Regions from separate parts of the Homo sapiens genome. Here all the other regions are linked to region 2. The links are contacts of gene promoters, found by promoter capture Hi-C in blood cells and fetal thymus (Javierre and others, 2016). All regions are on one chromosome and are shown on one strand. The core of a region is centred on a gene start or on the middle of the fragment in contact, and the rest is flanking DNA. Distances in the headings are between cores, read along the strand shown.

Region 1 (4,467 bases), core at 225-2,724, 99 kb before region 2:
TTTGTTTAAGATTCTTCCTTTCCCTGTTAATGGGTAAGATTAGCCCGTAAATTCTTTTTTTATTTTTGAGACAGGGGCTTGCTCTGTTGCCCAGGCTAGAGTGAGTGGCACTATCACAGCTCACTGCAGCCTCAACCTCCTGGCCTCAAGCAGTCCTCCTACCTTAGCCCCGCAAGTAGCTGGGACTACAGGTGTGTGCCACCACACCCAGCTAATTTTTTTAAAATTTTTTGTAGAGATAGGGTCTCCCTTTGTTGCCCAGACTTTTCTTGAAATCCTGGGCTCAAGTGACCCTCCCACCTTGGCCTCCCAGTGTCCCAGGATTACAGGCTTGAGCCATCACACCTGGCCTCTTTCCTTTTTAATGTGCTTGGCTGGTTTTGGTAAGAAGCTTACTCTGGCCTGATAGAATGAGTAGCAGAGTGTGCCTTCTTTTTCTGCTCTGTGGAGGAGTTTGTGTGAGGTAGGAATGATCCTTGATTGAAAGTTTGCTAGAACTTGGAAATATCATTTGGTCTCATGTTTTCTTTGTGGGAATATTATTATTATTATTATTATTATTTTATTTTTTTTTTTTGAGATGGAGTCTCGCCCTGTCACCCAGGCTGGAGTACAGCGGCGCGATCTCAGCTCACTGCAAGCTCTGCCTCCCAGGTTCATGCCATTCTCCTCCCTCAGCCTCCCGAGTAGCTGGGACTACAGGCGCCTGCCACAACGCCCGGCTAATTTTTTGTATTTTTAGTAGAGATGGGGCTTCACCATGTTAGCCAAGATGGTCTCGATCTCCTGACCTCGTGATCCGCCCGCCTCGGCCTCCCAAAGTGCTGGGATTACAGGCGTGAGCCACCGCCCCTGGCCCTTTGTGGGAATATTTTTAAATATTTATTTAATCCTTTAATATTTATGAGACTAAAAGGAGAAACTATTTTTTTCTGTAACCACAGAACACTTCTGACATCAGATGTGTGGGTTTTTCTACACCAAGCGATTCTTCAGTTCTCTATGGACATAACTGGGTACCCTACAATTTCATTCAGTTCTGATACTACCCAGAGTTAGTGCAGACCCAATAGGTTACGGGCTCAGTCCAACAGGCTGATCCCCACTTCCAATACCAGTTGCAAGTAGTGGGTCTCCAGGCGATACACACTTCTCTCCAGCTTGGCTGCAAATAGGGGATTCCCACAAAACCCTCCTCAGATTCGATAATTTCCTATAATGCATAGAACACAGAGAAACACTTTACTTAACATTTATTGGTTGATTATAAAATGAACAGCCAGCTGAAGAGGTATATAGAATGAAATCTAAAAGGGTCCCCTACACAAGAGTTTCTGTCCCCGTGGAGTGGGGTAGACCTCCTGGTACATGGATGTGTTCACCAACCTAGAAGCTCTCTGAAACCCTTCGTTTGGAAGTGGAGGCTCCATTACATGGGCACAATTGATTAAATCATTGATGATGAGCTCAGTCTTCAGCCCCTGTCCCCTCCCGGTAGGAAGATAAGGCTGAAAGTTTCAACCTTCTAATCACATGGTTGGTTTCTCTGGCAACCAGCCCCCATCCTCTGCCAGTCACATCATTAGCATAAACTCAGATCTGTTTGAAAAGGGCTTCTTATGTATAACAAAAGATGTTCCCCTCACCCCTACCACTCAGGAAGTTACTAGCATTTTAGAAGCTCTGTGCCAGGAACCTGGGGCAGAGACCAAATGTGTATTTCTTATGTCACAGGGACCATTTAGGATTTCTATATATTTATATACATACATATATATACTCTGTTCAGTTACGCTTGTTTTGAAAACCCAAATTTGTTCTAACATGGCTGTGATATTAGAGAATGAGTACAGCATAATGTGAATTTCCTGTTACTTACACACCAATTTTGTCCTTAAGAAATGCTAGAGCTGGGAACGGGGGCTGTGTCTGTAATCCCAGCTACTCAGGAGGCTGAGGCAGTAGGATCACCTGAGGCCAGGAGTTTAAGACCAGCCTGGGCAGGCCGAGTACGGTGGCTCATGCCTTTGGGAGGCTGAGGCGGGGCGGATCACGAGGTCAGGAGATCGAAACCATTCTGGCTAACACGGTGAAACCCCGTCTCTACTAAAAATACAAAAATTAGCTGGGCGTGGTGGCGGGCACCTGTAGTCCCAGCTACTCGGGAGGCTGAGGCAGGAGAATGGCGTGAACCCGGGAGGCGGATTTTGCAGTGAGCCGGCTGTAACGTTTTCTTGAATGGGTGGTAGGCCACAGATATTACTGGTCCACAAGCCAGGTTGGGCAGGAGCTTCCTTTTTCTAGAGACAAGTGCTACTGGGCTAGTCAGGGGCACAGGCCTATCTGAGATAGTCTGAAGGCAACAGACAAGAAATGCCAAGTGGGGTCCTGGAGTGCGGGCCAGTCCCTTCAGGACACGTTGCCGAAGACTCCACATCCCAGGGAGAAAGGTCACATACTAAACTGCCAGACCAGGTGCTGGAGGGCTGAGGAGGGCGATGTCAGGCCCCGAGGGTGCTGGCTCCTGTGTCCATTCACAGTCGCCCTCCTAAGCTTTAGGCCAGGCTGTAGCTGGTCCTCCTGTGGGAAGGGAAGGAAGCCAAGGAGAAGGATGGAAGTGGTGTGGGCCCTCTGTCCTGCCGCAGAAGCCCGCGGAAGGTTTGGTGGCTGCTCCTTGTCTTCCCAGCAACTCCTCTTCAACTCCTCCCCTCCCAAGTCCTGTAGATGAGCTACAACCCTGTTTCTCCAAGTGTCATCAAGCAGTTCCCCATCCGCCTGGCCTTCCCTGACTGGGAAGCATGCCCTCAGTATCTCTCTGCTGCAGAGCCCGAGGCCGTCACCCTCAGCAGGGAGTGGCTGATGACAAGGCCACCCACTGCCTGTCCCGCGTGGGCCTGCATGATATGTGCATGCTCGTGGACCTTACTTGTGTGAACATTGGGTGCTTGTGCACGTCTGCTGGACCAGACGTGGTGATGCTGCAGCAGTGATTCCTGAGTACCTGCTTGGCCTCAGGCTCTGTGCTGGGCTCTTGGGATACAAAAAGGAATAAAACAGCCAGCCTCAGCCTTCAAGGTTCCCATAGCCTCCCCGGAAGGTCAGACAGTGAGTAGATCCTCCCCGTCAGTGGGGTCGGTGTTCTGGTAGGGGAAGGACCAGGTCAGAGACCTGCTCAGTATTGCCCGTGGGAGGGAAGAGCAGAAGACTCCTAGGCTTCCACCCAGAGGGAACGATGGTGTCATTCACCAAGACAGGGACACAGAAGGAGGAGCCAGTTAGGGGGACAAGATGAGTTCCATTGAGGCTCATCGAGACTGAGTGCCAGGCTTGTGGGCTACTAGGTGGAAATGTCCACATGCCAGTGATATGCGGCTGTGGAAGTTGAGGGAAGCACAGGCTGGAGGGGCAGCTCTAGCAGTCACCAGGCACAAGGAGTGCCTGAGTTGGGTCAGGCTAGCAGAAGAGGTACCAAGGGGGCTTTGGAGAGCAAAAGCAATAGGAGATCAAGGAGTGAGCCCTCACATACCACAGTCTACCAGGTGATCAAAGGAAGAAGACTGAGAAGGGGTGGCCAGAGTGGGAGAAGAAAATCCAGGAGAAAAGGGTGACCCTGAGCTAAGGAAAGAGGTCCCAGAGGCAGGACTGTGTGACACAGCAGGGATGTCTGCAGGCTGGTGTTAGTCATTCCCCCAGCAGCCCACACTGTGCCTCGCTGGCTGCAGGGGGCGTGCGGGGCTTACCTCCGAAGGCTCAGCCGGCTGGAGGCGTCCCGACTGGGTGTCTTTGGAGTGGAGCCGACCATGAGGATGCAGAGCCCAGCAAGGATCATGCAGGTGGGCACGGCGCCAATGAGGACTTTGAGGGTGACCACCACCTCCTCTGCTTGCTTGCAGACCCCTGCCTTATACCCCGAGAACCTGGAGAAACATCAGCCAGCCATTAGGGCAGGGCCTGCTGAGCCTGGCACCCTGGGTGGAGGGACTCGACACCTCACCCCACCCCACCCCCTCCTGAAACGTGGACTTCATTTCCTGGTCAGATCAGGAGAGGAGTGTCAAGGTGACAGGCTGACCTGGGAGAGTTTAGAGGGAACTGAGAATAGGGGAGCTGGCCCTCTCAGTCTCATGCACAGAGAAACCTGGGGAAGTGGTTCCCCACACTCTCCAAAGAGTAGCGCTTAGGCCCCAGGCTCATGGATGCCCTGAGCTTGGTAGGTGAGGGGCTTTGCCCTCTTCCTGCCCACTGGTCCTTGGTGCCTCTGCTGTATCCTAACCCTGGGACTCACTCCAGACTGAGGGTGGAGATGCCCAGGGCACATGCGCCAGACAGCTTGGTGAAGAAGACGTAGGAGGAGTAGAAGATGGTCTCCAGGCCTGGCCCGTGACGGTGCTGCAGCTGAAAGTCATCCACCACGTCTGGCAGCATGGACCTGCGGCGGGGGTGTGGAGTTAGCCCTCCTAGCCCCTT
Region 2 (4,455 bases), core at 646-3,145:
GTGCCTGGCCCAAACCAGCCTCTTTCCACAGGAATTGATACTTGTTTATGCTGCTCAGTGATGTGATAGCTACTTGACCCAGGAAAATCCAGGTATGGTTCCATTATGAGGAATCCCACCCATTAAGACATCAACTCTAAGTGGCAGGTGAAGTGTCCAGGAGAGGATGTGGTATGCAAATTGTGTCAGAAGGATTTATCTATTCTGGAATCCATACTGGTTCCCAAACAAAAAAAATTGTCATTTCCAGTGTTGTACAGTTTTTTGGAATGATTGGGAGCTTAGATGGCCAGAATGCTCTAAGTTTGATGCCATTTGGTCATTTTCAGGACTTTTCCTGAGTTTTCAATTTTTCTTAGTTTAATAAACAGTTTAATAAACTCCTGCCCAATAAACAGTAGGCTATGTCTAATGTACTGTGAATTTTATTTTTTTTTTTTTGAGATGGAGTCTCATTCTGTCACCCAGGCTGGAGTGCAGTGGCACGATCTTGGCTTACTGCAATCTCTGCCTCCCGGGTTCAAGCGATTCTCCTGCCTCAGCCTCTCAAGTAGCTGGGATTACAGGCATGCACCACGACACCTGGCTAATTTTTTGTATTTTTAGTAGAGAGGGGGTTTCACCATGTTGGCCAGGTTGGTCTCGAACTCCTGACCTCAAGTGATCCGCCCGCCTTGGCCTCCCAAAGTGCTGGGATTACAGGCGTAAGCCCGGCCTGTACTGTGAATTTTTGAAATGAACCTAATTCCTACTTTACAGCAGAGCTTTTCTTTCTTTCTTTTTCTTTCTTTCTTTCCTTTCTTTCTTCCTTTCTCTCTCTCTTTCTTCTTTTTTTTTTTTCTGAGACAGGGTCTGGCTCTGTCATCCAGGCTGGAGTGCAGTGGCGTGATTTCGGCTCACTGCAACCTCCATCTTCTGGGTTCAAGTGGTTCTCATGCCTCAGCTTCCCGAGCAGCTGGGATTACAGGTGCCCACCACAACACCCATCGATTTTTTGTATTTTTAGTGGAGACAGGGTTTCACCATGTTGGTAAGGCTGATCTAGAACTCTTGACCTCAGGTGATCCACCCACCCCGGCCTCCCAAAGTACTGGGATTACAGGCTTGAGCCACCGCACCCGGCCTACAGCAGAGCTTTTCATATGAATTGTGTGGCTTAATTTTTTTTTCTTTGGAAGTTAAATTGCAAATGCTTTATCTGTGGGTTCAGCTTTTTGTATTCTTAATTCTTCAGCGGGCCGGGGGCAGGGGGCGGCGATAGAGGCGGCTCTTACAGGGTACTCATTCTTTGGCTCCGCCTTAGATCTGGCTAAGGGGATAGAAAACGACCCTGCCTCGCTTTGTTTAAAAACGCAGAGTTCTAGCATGGTGTTTCCCCCCCCCCTTCTCTTCTTAAGCTTACCAAGTTCCAGATACCGCCCAGATGAATTTTTTTTTTATCACAGCTGTCATTCTCATTTCTACAGGCATGAAAAGTGCGACTCAAGTTCAGTGTCTTGCCTCGGGTAGCTTGGGGATTCCCAGTCAGCTCCTCGCGCCTTCGTCGCCGCTCCCCTTCCACCCCGCGCCTTCGCCGGCCGTCCCCTGCTCCATCCAGGCCACGGGGGTGACGGTGGGGTCTGGGGCATTCAGGCCTGGCTGGGCATGAGGGCTTCAGGCCCAATTCCACGCCCGAACTCGTCCTGATTAGTCTGGCTTTTCTGGTCGCCCCAGCCCTGCGGTCGGGGAGAGCTGGAAACCACCGAGCTGACAGCCTAGAGCGTCGCTCCCCGGCCGCCGAGCGCTGACGCCGCGCCGGGGGCGGGGCAGCTGGAGGCGGCAGGGAGAGGAGCGAGCAGCCGGGAAGGGCTGGCCGGCTTCGCAGCGCCCCGCCGTGGCTGCGGCCGGAAGCGGTCTCGTTGGCCCTGCGGCGCTGGAGCCTTGACGCACGGAGCTCGAGAGCGAGAACGGGAGAGAAAGGGGTAGAAATGGCGGCTCCGCTCGGCTCCCGCTGAGGAGGGCGAAGCCGGCGGAGTGTCTGTGCTGCCGGTCTGCAGCACCGCCCCCGCTTCCCGCACGCCGCCTGCTCACGCCGACTTCCCTTCCTCTGCCCGGCTCTCTCTTGTGCTCGTCTGCGCTCCGCACGCTCCGGGCCGGCTCGTCTCTCATTGCCCGGCTCGGCTCCGCTGGCCCTGACTGACCGGCCGGCGGGCCGGCCTTGCTCGGCTCTCCCGGGCGCGGCGTGGACTCCGTCCCCCTGGCTGGACCATGGTGAACACCCGGAAGAGCTCTCTCCGCCTTCTCGGGTCCAAGTCTCCTGGTCCCGGGCCTGGGCCTGGGGCCGGAGCAGAGCCTGGGGCGACCGGAGGCAGCAGCCATTTCATCTCCTCTCGGACCCGCTCCTCCAAGACCCGCGCCGCCAGCTGCCCCGCCGCCAAAGCCGGGGGAAGCGGTGGCGCCGGCGTCACTCTGGATGAGGCCAGGGTAAGAGCGCGGCGTCCCGAGTCCGGAGGCTCGGAAGTGCCGGCCCTGCTGCCGGGGCTTTGTCTGGCCGGGTTGGGGGTAGGAAGCCTACAGTGGAGACCGCTCGGGCGGCTGGAGACAGGGTCTGCGGGCGCGGTGGAGGGTGGCACCCAGAGAAGGGCCGCGACGCTGGCCCCTTTGCTTTTCAAGCTGGCCCGGCTCTTTTGTGTGAAGAACAGCCCTTGAGTCCAGGGGAGAGGGCTTTGGGGGTCCCTTTCGGCGTCATTCGAACGATCTGCTGTCCGTGTCCTTGTCCTGCCCCAGAGGGGAATTCTAGCGGGGAAGCAAGAGCGAAGGGCCAGAGCCCCTGGGTGGAAGGGTTGGAGAAGTGAAAGTTTTCTGCGGTGTCAAACCCTTCTTGAAAGTGTGTCAGTTCCTGCCGCTGTCTAACTCCAGCTTACTCTCAGTTTGGGGGTGGTTCAAGTTGGTGAGGAAGTGAACAGAGAGCTCCAGTTGGCAGCCAGGCAGGGATGCTGAAAAAAGTTTGTAGCTGCTCTGACACCAACTTTAAAAACAAAATCAACGCTATCGCCTCTCCAGGCAGGAGAGATCAAACATGATATTATAGCTGGGGAACCAGCCAGCTAGCTCACCAAGGTGCTAGTAGGAACCAGAGCTTTCAGGTCACAGAAGGAGCACGTCGAAAGAAACAAGTGGAATGTTTCGGATAGTCAGCACCATCATGCCAAAACTGTGTGGTTTCTTGGGTGTCTACATTTTTGTTATGGGACTATATTACAAAAGGTGAATGAACACCATAGTCATGCAGTTGCAAAAATGACATTTAAAGACGCTGGTGATTGAATTAAAAAACTGATTGAAAGATCTTGAAATTTTATTACCTACATTATAAAGCTAAGCACAGATATTTATTGTTTTAAAGGAATTGACACGTTTGTTTTACTATGAGATTGTTTCTGAATTCAGAGAAGAGTGTATTGCTTCTGTCTAAAAGAGGTTGACTTGCTAAGTAATTTGGCTGGAAAAAGCTGTTCATTTAAAATGCTCCTTTAATTCCACACCATTTTGTGGTTCTTATTGGGGGAAAGCAATATTTTATGTTCTAGGGGTCTACAAGATCGCGGTTTGTGTGTGCTTTTCTTTGTGTCTTACACTGTTTTGACACTAACAGAATGGATCTAGGCAGAGACAGGAATATTTTACCATACTACTCTGAAATATTTTTATTATATCTTTGAAAATCGTTTTGGCTTTTCTTTGATAAAATTTTGGGCATTATAACGTCCTATTTAATAGACTATTTTGGGGGCTTACAGCTCTCTTAGGTTGAAATAAGGTTAAATCTGAAAGTTGTGCAAACTGTTGAGAATAAGTACTTTGAAGACGAGGCTTTCGGTGGAAACTATTCCAAACATGTTCAAGCTTCTTGACCTACTGAGGCTATCACATATTTTAAAATAAAACTCAATTTAAGAAAAGATCTTTTCTGTACATTTAAGGACAAAGAAAATATTTAGGGTGTAAGCATTTAATCGTATCATGCTATGTGAATGCCTAGTCTGTTAGAGCAGTGTCTAACTCATCTGAAGCAATTAGCTCATCTTCACTCATCAGTTTGTGGTCCCATTTTTGAATTCATGGATATCATGCTGTCCTCACCCCCCGAGGAATAAGGTGAGGTAATTTGTCAAGCAGCTGTTATAGAGATGTTAAAAGGCTAGGAATCAATAATCTAATGAGGAAATGAACATTTGGTAGCTTTTAAATTGCTAAAAGAATGAAAGATATGAGAGCTCTTTGTAGAAGGGTACTAATGAAACTTTGTTTCAAAGATCCTTTTAAAATGTTTTAAAGCACCATAAATAACAGGGTACTAAAGATTTACTTTGAAATATTTGTTTTTCAGTCTTAAGAAGATTTATGTTCGGCTCTAGGAGATGATGTAGTCATCTAATTGCTTTCTCTGAAAGGTTTTTTTAGAGACGTAACTAC
Region 3 (4,302 bases), core at 192-2,691, 110 kb after region 2:
TTGAAGGACCATAAAGCTTCAGTCAGGTAGATCTAATAGCACTTCTATTAGAAGAGGCCGGATTGTGTGTACTTTTAATATTTTGAACAAATTTAAGTCTCCAACTTGAAGTTTTCCCATGTAGATTTTGGTGAAATGTTGATTTGATTATTTGCATTGATAACCCTTTCTTGTTTTTCATTTTTAAAAATGAGCCTAAATTACTTTCATCTCCTCTTTTTTTCTTCATATGTTCTTTAATAGCAAACTCTTTGTAAGTTTTTTTCTTCTTCTCCAGATCCTTTCTTTTATGCTCTTGGGGAAGTTTTTTTATAGGCTATTCCAGCATTTTACAGATTTGTTTTATTGATAGTTATGGGAAAGCCAATTTTTTTTTTTTTTTTTTTTTTTTTGCTTTTCACCTGGCTAGCCTGTGCGTCTGTGTCTCTCTGTCTCTCTCTCTTTCTCTCTCTCTCTCTCCCCCCTCCCTCTCTTCTTCCCTCCCTCCCTCCGTCTCCCTCTCTTCTTCCCTCCCTCCCTCCCTCTCTTCTTCCCTCCCTCCCTCTCCCTCTCTTCTTCCCTCCCTCCGTCTCTCCCTCTCCCTCTCTTCTTCCCTCCCTCCTTCTCTCTCTCTGTGTGTGTGTGTGTGTGTAATGTGTGTGTGTGTGTGTGTGTGTGTAATGTGTGTGTGTGTGTGTTTATGTGTGTTTGACAGTTATAGTTATTTGGATTTGTATTATGTAGTAGCAGAAACTAAGTAAGTATCAAAAGACGTGTTTAATTTTATAAGATAATTGTCGTCAATAAAGGAATACAGAAATAGATTTTGATATTAGAAAGTATCATGTACAGTGTTAAGTTTGACTTTTTATTGAGGACATTTCCTGCCACTGATTTAATGTGAAACATTGGTATGGCTCATTTTGTTTTAGCTTTTCTGAAAGAATTGGTTTAATTTTAGCTTCCTTTACATAAGCTTTTCTAGTTCATTCATTTGACTTTGATTAAATAATGAGACAGCTATATGCTAGAATAAGCATTTTTTAGATGTTTTAATAATAATTATTCACTTATTTCTTTATTCACCTACCCATTTGTCCAATTTTTCTTTGTTTACCCTATGCCAGGCATTGTATGAGATGCTGAAAACATAAGCATGAATAAGATATAACATAGTTCTTACTTTGGAGAAGGTCTCATGGTTGGGGGTGACAAACATTTCAATATGGCGAAAGTGCTGTGAAAGCAGAACTAATTCTGCTGGAAGTCTGGGAAGGTTTCACAGGAGAAGTAGTGATATTTGCTGTCCTTTTCATTATGAAGGGATGGGAGTTTGCATCTGAGTGCTTTTTACAAATTAGATACTTGCTTGGTATGTAAAGATCTGTGCTTCATATTCAGTAATATATATAGGCCCCTTAACAATCATATTGCATTTGTGGTATCTTCATTTTATAGATGAGGAAAGTGAAGCACACAGAAGTTAAATAAATTGCCCATGATCCTGTTGCTAGCAGGTGGCAGAGCCAGACTCTGTGCTGTTTCCTAAGACCATATTTTTCCAAGTTATTTCTGAGCTTAATAAGTAGCTAGGGAATTGCATTGCTTCTTTAGGTAAGTTAAGCCATATATTTCACACTCTCCAAGAAGCATACACTTTAGAATTAAGGCCTTTAGTATGGGCAACATATAGTCTTTTTTGTTTGGTTGGTTTAGTTTTCTGTTTGAGCAAGATACGTTAGCATTACAGATCAATGCAGAAGAAAAGGTGCTCGGCCAGAATAAAGCATAACTTTAGTGCTGGTTTTCAGTCACACTAGCCTGGGTATTGCTGGTGAATTTCTGGGAATAGTCTCCTGAAACAATGTTGAAACCTTTTCTTTTTTACATTTAATATAAAGGAGAAGTCAAGATAGTTAAGGTTTACCAATCTGGTAGAGAAGCTTTATGATGGAAAATAAATTTTCTTTCTTACTTTATATTACCATAAGGGTGACTAGAAACAGAATTTTCTGAGGTTTTTCAAATGAAAATAGCTTTGTTTTTTCTGATTAGAAAGATGATATACACTGTAGAAAATTCAAGTAATAAAGAAGAGCATAAAGAAGAAAGTAAAAATTAAAGCCCCAGCACCTGCAGGTAATATTTGTTAAAGTTTTGGTGACCACACTTCCATGTCCTCTCTATGCATGTATAATGTATAGACCCATACATTATCTGGATTATATCCTCCTATAAGTTGTTAATATAACTTACTTTTTCATCCACTATGTTGGGAATATTATTTCATGTCAGTGTATGTTTAATATGACTGTTTTAAGATAGCTGCATATTATCTTACACTTTGGATATTCCATAATTTATAGACCCTTATTGGTAAAATTTGAAGTTTTCAAGTTTCTTCTTTTATGAACAATAGACTTGTTTCTAAGTATACATCTTTACACCACTATCTGATTCAAAGCATAAGGTAAATTTTAAGAACTGCAATTGCTGTGTCAAAGAGTGTATACATTTAACATGTTGACACAGATTGTTAAATTGCTTTCCAGAAGGCTTGTACTAGTTTACATTTCTCATACTAATGTATGAGAGTAGTATTTTTCTTATACCATTGTCAATTCTGAGCACTGTCTTTTAAAATCTTTACAAACCAGATAGATGAATATAATATCTTTTTGTTTAGTTGACTTGTTCATTTGTTCTTTCATATATTCATTCACTCATTCAAATGTTTTGTAAAAGTGCCCATCATGTTCCAGACATTGTCCTGGGTAGTTGGGGTAGGTCAGTGAACAAAATAGGGTAAGATCCTGGCCCTCATTTAACTTATATTTTTAAACAGAGGAGACATTCAGTAAAATAATAAATGTAATAGCTTGCTAGATAGATAAACTGTTAGAAGATAAGTACTATGGGGAAAAAATGTAGAAGATAGTAAGAGGCTGGGGAATCCCTAGGAGTGGAGTGAGTTATTGAATACTTTTGGGCATACATTTTGGCATATTTAGATCTATCACATATAATTTCAGAAAAGTTGTGCTTTTCTTCCACTAGTTGTGAGGATATCAATTTTGCCATCCTCTCATTGATAATGGGCATTACAATTAATTTTTGGTTTATTAATCTAACAGATAAAAGATGTCCATCATTATTTTCATTTATATTTTCTCATTTTTTAAAAATCTCTGTGTTAATGACTACCATTTTGTTCTCAAGCCTAGATTGCTCTTGAGCTTCAGACCCTGACCAGTGGCCCATCTCCCCTTTGTTGTACCATGGATCTTTCCGTACATAGCTGGACTGTATCATACGCCCCTTCTCTTCCTGTGACTCCTATGAGCCATCATTCATTCAGTTGTCTCAGCTAGAATTTGACATCATTCTCAACTTCTTTCCTTTTATTTCTTTCTTTGTCTAGTCAATGACCAAGTCTTTCTGATTTTTCTTACTAAGTAAGTCTCATCGCAGGCTATTCCTTCTTTCTCTAACACTATTCTTGTTGAACTGTCATTCACATGTCATGCCTGGGTTACTATAGCAGATGCCTGATTATCTTTCCTCTCATTTGCCTTCTTTCAAAACCCTTTCCCATACTGACAATGCTGAGATAGAGTTATCTTCCCTAAACATGTATATGATTATCTTGTTCCTCTAAAGTATCTTAATGCTTCCCCATTGTCTTCAGTACACATTCCAAACTTTTTTTTTTTTTTTTTGGAGACGGATTTCATTCTTTTTGCCCAGGCTGGAGTGCAATGGTGTGATCTCAGCTCACTGCAACCTCCACCTCCCAGGTTCAAGTGATTCTCCTGCCTCAGCCTCCCAAGTTGCTGGGATTACAGGTGCCTGCCACCACGCCTGGCTAATTTTTTTTGTATTTTTAGTAGAGTCAGGGTTTCACCATGTTGGCCAGGATGGTCTCGATCTCTTGACCTCATGATCTGCCCGCCTTGGCCTCCCAAAGTGCTGGGATTACAGGTGTGAGACACTGCGCCAGGCCACATTCCAAACTTTTAACGTGGCTTACAAAACCCTTTGTAGCCCTTCATAGTCTAACTTACCTTCTTTTTTCTCTCCCCACCCTAGTACCTTTACTGTACCCTCCACAACTTGTCCCCAGTACTTCAAAACAAACAAACAAAACCAAAACTGGCTGTATGAACTGTATTAGTTACCCCAAAGAGCCATGTTCTTTTTAACTGTTGGTCCTTTGCACATCCTGTTTGCAGTCTTGGAATTCATCTCTTGTACCTCCAATCTTTTGGGTTTCTGCCTTGGTAACACTTTTCCAGGAATGCCTTCTATGAGTCTCTAATTGGT
Region 4 (4,953 bases), core at 948-3,447, 83 kb before region 2:
GAGACTCAGTCATAAATAAATAAATAAATAATCAGATCCCATCTCCTCTCTGATTAAAACTCTCCAATGGCTTGCTATTGCAGGGTTTTTTTGTCTGTTTTTGTGTGTGTGTGTGTGTGTGTGTGTGTGTTTTGTTTGTTTGTTTGTTTGTTTCCAGATCCATGGTATTCAGTCAATACCATTGCAGTTTGAATAAAACTCCAAGTCCTGATCATGGCTAAGGAGTCCACCCAGTCGGCCCCCTACCCACCTCACCTCAAATAGCTCTCCTTCAGCCACGCCGGGCTCCTTCCTATTCCTCAAAATCATCAAGTCTGTTGCTGCCTCAGGGCCTTTGCCCTTCCCATTCCTCTGCCTGGAAGGTGACTCCTTGTCATTCTGGTTTGATGTCACCAGCTTAAATGTCACCTCCTCCAAGAGGCATTCCCTAACCTCTCACCTCTCTCAGTTGTACTTACCGCCTGCTATATTTTCATTTAGTTCCTGCCTCTCCCTACAGGAATGTAAGCTCTCTGAGAGCATGAACTCCACCTTTTATTTATCATGGTGTTTCCAGTACCTAGAACAAAGCTTGGTATACAGTAGGTGCTTAGTATATATCCGTTGAAGCAATAAATGGCCATGAAGACCCTGTGTAAAGTGCTGTTTCTTTGGAAGAAGCTGGGCTCTTTTCTCATCGTTTGCTGGGGGCTGGAGGGAGTGGAGATGACATGGCTTCACCCATTTCCACATCTTGCAGGACACCCCAGCAGGCTCTTGTGAAGGGAAGGTCTCCCCAGATAAGGGTTTATCACACTTTGCACACTCTTCCTACCCACAGGGGAAAACCACACTGGGGGCAGGATGATTCTTTTCTGACATTTGTGTGAACATCATTTCAGCTTCCAGAAAACTTTAAGAACAGGCAGAATTCAACGTGACAGTCCCCCTCTCCCCCTAATGGGGACTCTTGTATCCCCCAAAACAGGCCTAGCAAGTTTTTAGAACTTTAGAAAGAACTTCCAAGTGAAGCCAGGGATATGATCCCATCTTGCCGTCTTGAGGATGACAGTTTTACCGAAAGTCATAAAAGCCCGGTACAGCTGTACAGTGAGCTGTACAAGGAGAAGCCCCTTGGGAGGGGCGGCTCCGGGCGAGGGGCGCAGCCCTGCTATCTCTAGCTGCGTGACCCAGGGCAGGGCACCTCGGTCTCCTTGGAGTGACCGGGGCTGCCACCCCTCGGAGAGTCGTAAGAGGATTCCACGCCGGAACTTCATCAGCAATGCGAGTGTTTCCCTCTTGCTGTTAATCTCACCCTGAATTTCTAAGTTTCCCTGGGAAGTGAGAGTCCCCGGAGAGCCCCTTCATCTCACCTCACTTTCTTGTGGGATGCAATCCTGTGCTCCCAGGTGCCTCGTAGGAAGCCCTGAACAGGCTGGGGGCTGAGGTGGTCAGGGGAGGCCACAGAATGCCCTGGGCACGAGCAGGGAGCAGGCGCGTTCAGTGAGGCCCAGGAAGCCCCAGGCCCCTTGCTCCGTCCAGCACAGCCCCACTGGCCAGCACGGCCCGGCGGCATCGGGCAAGGGACAAGGGGCCCCGAAGACCCCGCCGCTCCCACCTGCCCTCCTCCCTTCTTGTCGGAGCCCATGGCCAGGACCTTCCCTGAGGCTGCCTCCAAGGGGAGCCTGGTGCCTGGGCGAGGCCAGGGTCTGGGAGGGAGGCCGAGGCCACAGCAGCTGCCTGAGGTCGGGAAGGACGCAGCCTCCCCAGGCGCTTCAGAAAGCCCTGCCTGCCCAGAGCTCGGGGACCCCGGGAGGACCTGCGGTGGCACGGACAAGACCCCTAAGCCGGGAATCAGGACAGCAATGACCACGCATCCCCAAGTTACTTCCTTGGCTAGGGCTAGGCTTCCCGTCCTAGTCTCTTTCCGGCGCCGGCACCTACCAGCCTCCCCGCTCCCAGCCGTGTAACCCCGCGAGGGCAGCCCCTGAGCTGGCAGGTTTGGGCCGAGCCCCTCCGGGCTGCCCCCAGCTGGAAAAGGGGCTGCGAGGCGACGCCCTGGAGCTCCCCGAGGACGCAGCCCCTTCCCGGTCCCCGCCGCCCCGCTCACCTCTCGCCCTCGCTTGGCGCTCCCCGGGCCGGGCTCTGGGGCGTGCGGCTCCGGCTGCGGGGACCCCTTGGCGGCTGGTGCAGGGGGCGCCGCCATTGCCACCGCAGCGCCGCCCGCGGCCGTTGCCCTCGGGGTTATCGCCCTTGGGAGGGGCGGTTCTGGGCTAGGGGCGCGGCGCGAGTGGCTGCTGGCAACGCGGGGGAAACGCAGAAACCGCGAAGGGCACCCCAAAGGGAAACAGCGAAGAACCAAAATCCGCGGGGGGAAAGGCCCGGCAGGCCCTCAGGACCGTTCTCCTTGGGGTGGATCCCCGGGGGCGTGAGCGCCCGCAGACGGCGGCCCTGCGCGCTAAGGGCTCCGCCAGACCGCTGGGGTGACCGCGGGCAAGCAGCAGCTCCCCTGCAAAATGAAGCAAGAGGCCCGCTCGTTCAGGCTGGACCATGGCTGAACAGGCATTCCGCCGGCTACACATGATGCCCAACGCCTGAAATATACATTGTCGAGTCTCCTATACAGACCACGGGGATGGCCAGTAACTAAGTTCTGGCCAGCGAATAAAAGCAGGTGGCACAGGCCAACATTCCAGAAAAGTCCTTAAAAGGGAAGGGGGGTGACAGCAGGTAGCTAGTCAGCCTCGAAAAGGGCAGGAGAGGGCCACGCTTCCAACCAGGTACGTCAGGCAACCATCAGGCGACAGTCAGGCGGTTGTTATGCTCCCTCTAAAATGATCATTGATCCAGCGGGGCCAGGGAAAGGCAGTCTCCCAATAGATAGAGAAAACCTGAAACTGGTGATCAGCTTCTCGGTAAGATCTCAGGAGCTGGGCAAGTGGGCTTACACAAATTGCGGAGTTTAACTGACATGTGACCCTCGAAGGACACCGGACTGGTAAGGGAAGAACGCCTCCAGTGAGCATGGGTACAACTCCAGTATACACAGTGTGCACACTCCCCTCCCAAGTGCTGGCAGACCACTGCCCATGCAGGCAGGCCTCCCAAGGGAAGAATCAGGGGAGAAGGGATGCAAGACCCCAGAAGTATGCCAATGCATAAGACCCCAGGTCAAAAGGTCAAACTGTGCGCTTCTTTTTCAGGTCACCCGCTTGGCCCTCTTCCAAGTGTACTTTCCTTCCTTCCATTTCTGCTGTAGAGCTTTTTAATAAACTTTTATTCCTGCTCTAAAACTTGCCTCAGTCTCTCCTTCTGCCTTATGCCCCTCAGTGGAATTCTTTCTTCTGAGGAGGCAGGAACTGAGGTTGCTGCAGACCCATATAGATTCACTCCTGCTGACATATTTTGGTGCCACGTGACTCAGATACCTTCCACCAGTAACAGGGGTACACATTAACTAAAAATGCATCATAGACCTAGAATGTAAAACTTATGAAAAAACAGGAGCAAGGGACAGGCACGGTGGCTCATGCCTGTAATCCCAGCTACTCGGCAGGCTGAGGCAGGAGAATCGCTTGAACCCGGGAGGCGGAGATTGCAGTGAGCCAAGATCGTGCCACTGCATTCCAGCCTGGGTGACAGAGGGAGACTCTGTCTCAAAAACAAAAACAAAAACAAAACCAACCAAACACAAAAAACCCAGAAGCAACTCTTCATCATATTGGGCCAGGCAATTGTTTCTTAGGACGCCAAAAGCACAAGCTGGATGAACTACAAAAGTTTTCAAAATGAAAACCTTTGTGCTGTAAACGATTCCAACAAGTGGGTATAAAGACAACCCACAGAATGGGAGAAAAGGGATTTGTATTGGAATCAACTTTCACAACTCAACAATTAAAAGACAATCCAATTCTAAAATGGGCAAAGAATTTGGATATTTCTCTAAAGATATACAAATGAACAGTAAGCACATGGAAATACAAATCGAAACTACAGTGAGACACCATTTCATATCCACAGGGTGGCTGTAATTAAAATGAGACAAGTATTGGGGAGGATGTGGAGAAATCAGAACCCCTATACACTGCTAGTGGGAATGGAAACTAGTGACAGTCCTTTGGAAAAGTTTGGCAGTTTCTCAAAGTAAAACGTGGAATTACCACATGACCCGCAATTCCACTCTTAGGTGTATACACCCTACAGAAATGAAAACATGTTCACATAAAATCTTGAACATGAATGTTCATTAGCAGCATTCATATATATATACATATATATATAATGTGTGTGTGTATATATATATGCCAAAGAGGACACAAGCCAATGTCCATCAGGTTATGAATGAATAAATATAATGTGGTATATCCATACAATGGACTACTGTTGGGCAAGAAAAAGGAATGAAGGACCAATGCATGCTACAACACAGATGAACCTTGATGACAGTATGCTAAGTAAAAGAAGCCAGTCACAAGACTACAAATTGTATTATTCCATTTATGTCAAATGTCTAGAATAGGCAAATAGAGAGTGACAGAATGTACATTTGTAGTTGCTTGGGACTGGGCTAGGGAGTTACTGCTAAGGCATGTGAGGTTTTAGAATGGACAAACATTTTCTAAAGTTAAATTGTGATGGTTGCACAACCCTATAAATACACTAAAAACCATTGAATTGTATACTTTATTTTTATTTATTTATTTTTTTGAGACAGAGTCTTGTTGCCCAGGCTGGAATGCCGGGGCACGATCTCGGCTCACTGCAACCCCCACCTCCCGGGTTCAAGTGATTCTCCTGTTTCAGCCTCCCGAGTAGCTGGGATTACAGGCATGTGCCACCACTCCCGGCTAATTTTTGTATTTGTAGTAGAGATGTGCTTTCACCATGTTGGCCAGGCTGGTCTTGAACTCCTGATCCTCAGGTGATCCACCTCGGCCTCCCAAAGTGCTGGGATTACAGTGAGCCATCGGCCTA

The links. Contacts are between HindIII fragments. The CHiCAGO score rates a contact against its expected background, and 5 or more counts as called.
Region 1: a fragment that was not itself captured here is called in contact with the fragment with the promoter of ATAD2B in region 2 in 1 of 17 cell types (megakaryocytes); the score reaches 5.2 in megakaryocytes.
Region 3: a contact is called between a fragment that was not itself captured here and the fragment with the promoter of ATAD2B in region 2, in 7 of 17 cell types (megakaryocytes, naive B cells, endothelial precursors and 4 more). The highest score is 9.5, in megakaryocytes.
Region 4: the fragment with the promoter of MFSD2B here is called in contact with the fragment with the promoter of ATAD2B in region 2 in 2 of 17 cell types (megakaryocytes and erythroblasts); the score reaches 10.5 in megakaryocytes.

What each region holds. Positions count from the first base shown.
Region 1 is chr2:24,023,545-24,028,011 of GRCh38, reverse strand. It overlaps MFSD2B (MFSD2 lysolipid transporter B, sphingolipid), which reads right to left. Exons shown (of 14, transcript NM_001346880.2): 12 at 4,286-4,429; 13 at 3,741-3,917; 14 at 1,237-2,580. The coding sequence ends at 2,556. Among named protein-coding and RNA genes, the nearest start is that of MFSD2B, 16 kb to the right of the region's middle. RefSeq lists a silencer at 3,599-3,893 and an enhancer at 3,564-4,467. The HindIII fragment of the contact is 2,162 bases long and covers 394-2,555 here.
Region 2 is chr2:23,924,563-23,929,017 of GRCh38, reverse strand. ATAD2B (ATPase family AAA domain containing 2B) reads left to right here and starts at 1,895. Exons shown (of 28, transcript NM_017552.4): 1 at 1,895-2,463. The coding sequence starts at 2,248. It also overlaps a transcript of UBXN2A not described here. RefSeq lists enhancers at 1,369-1,458, 1,045-1,961, 2,719-2,768, 1,962-2,880, 2,979-3,228 and silencers at 1,629-1,958, 2,159-2,238. The HindIII fragment of the contact is 2,488 bases long and covers 1,400-3,887 here.
Region 3 is chr2:23,814,453-23,818,754 of GRCh38, reverse strand. All of the region lies in intron 17 of ATAD2B (ATPase family AAA domain containing 2B), which reads left to right. Among named protein-coding and RNA genes, the nearest start is that of ATAD2B, 110 kb to the left of the region's middle. The HindIII fragment of the contact is 967 bases long and covers 958-1,924 here.
Region 4 is chr2:24,007,329-24,012,281 of GRCh38, reverse strand. It overlaps MFSD2B (MFSD2 lysolipid transporter B, sphingolipid), which reads right to left and starts at 2,197. Exons shown (of 14, transcript NM_001346880.2): 1 at 2,090-2,197. The coding sequence starts at 2,185. The HindIII fragment of the contact is 4,987 bases long and covers 573-4,953 here.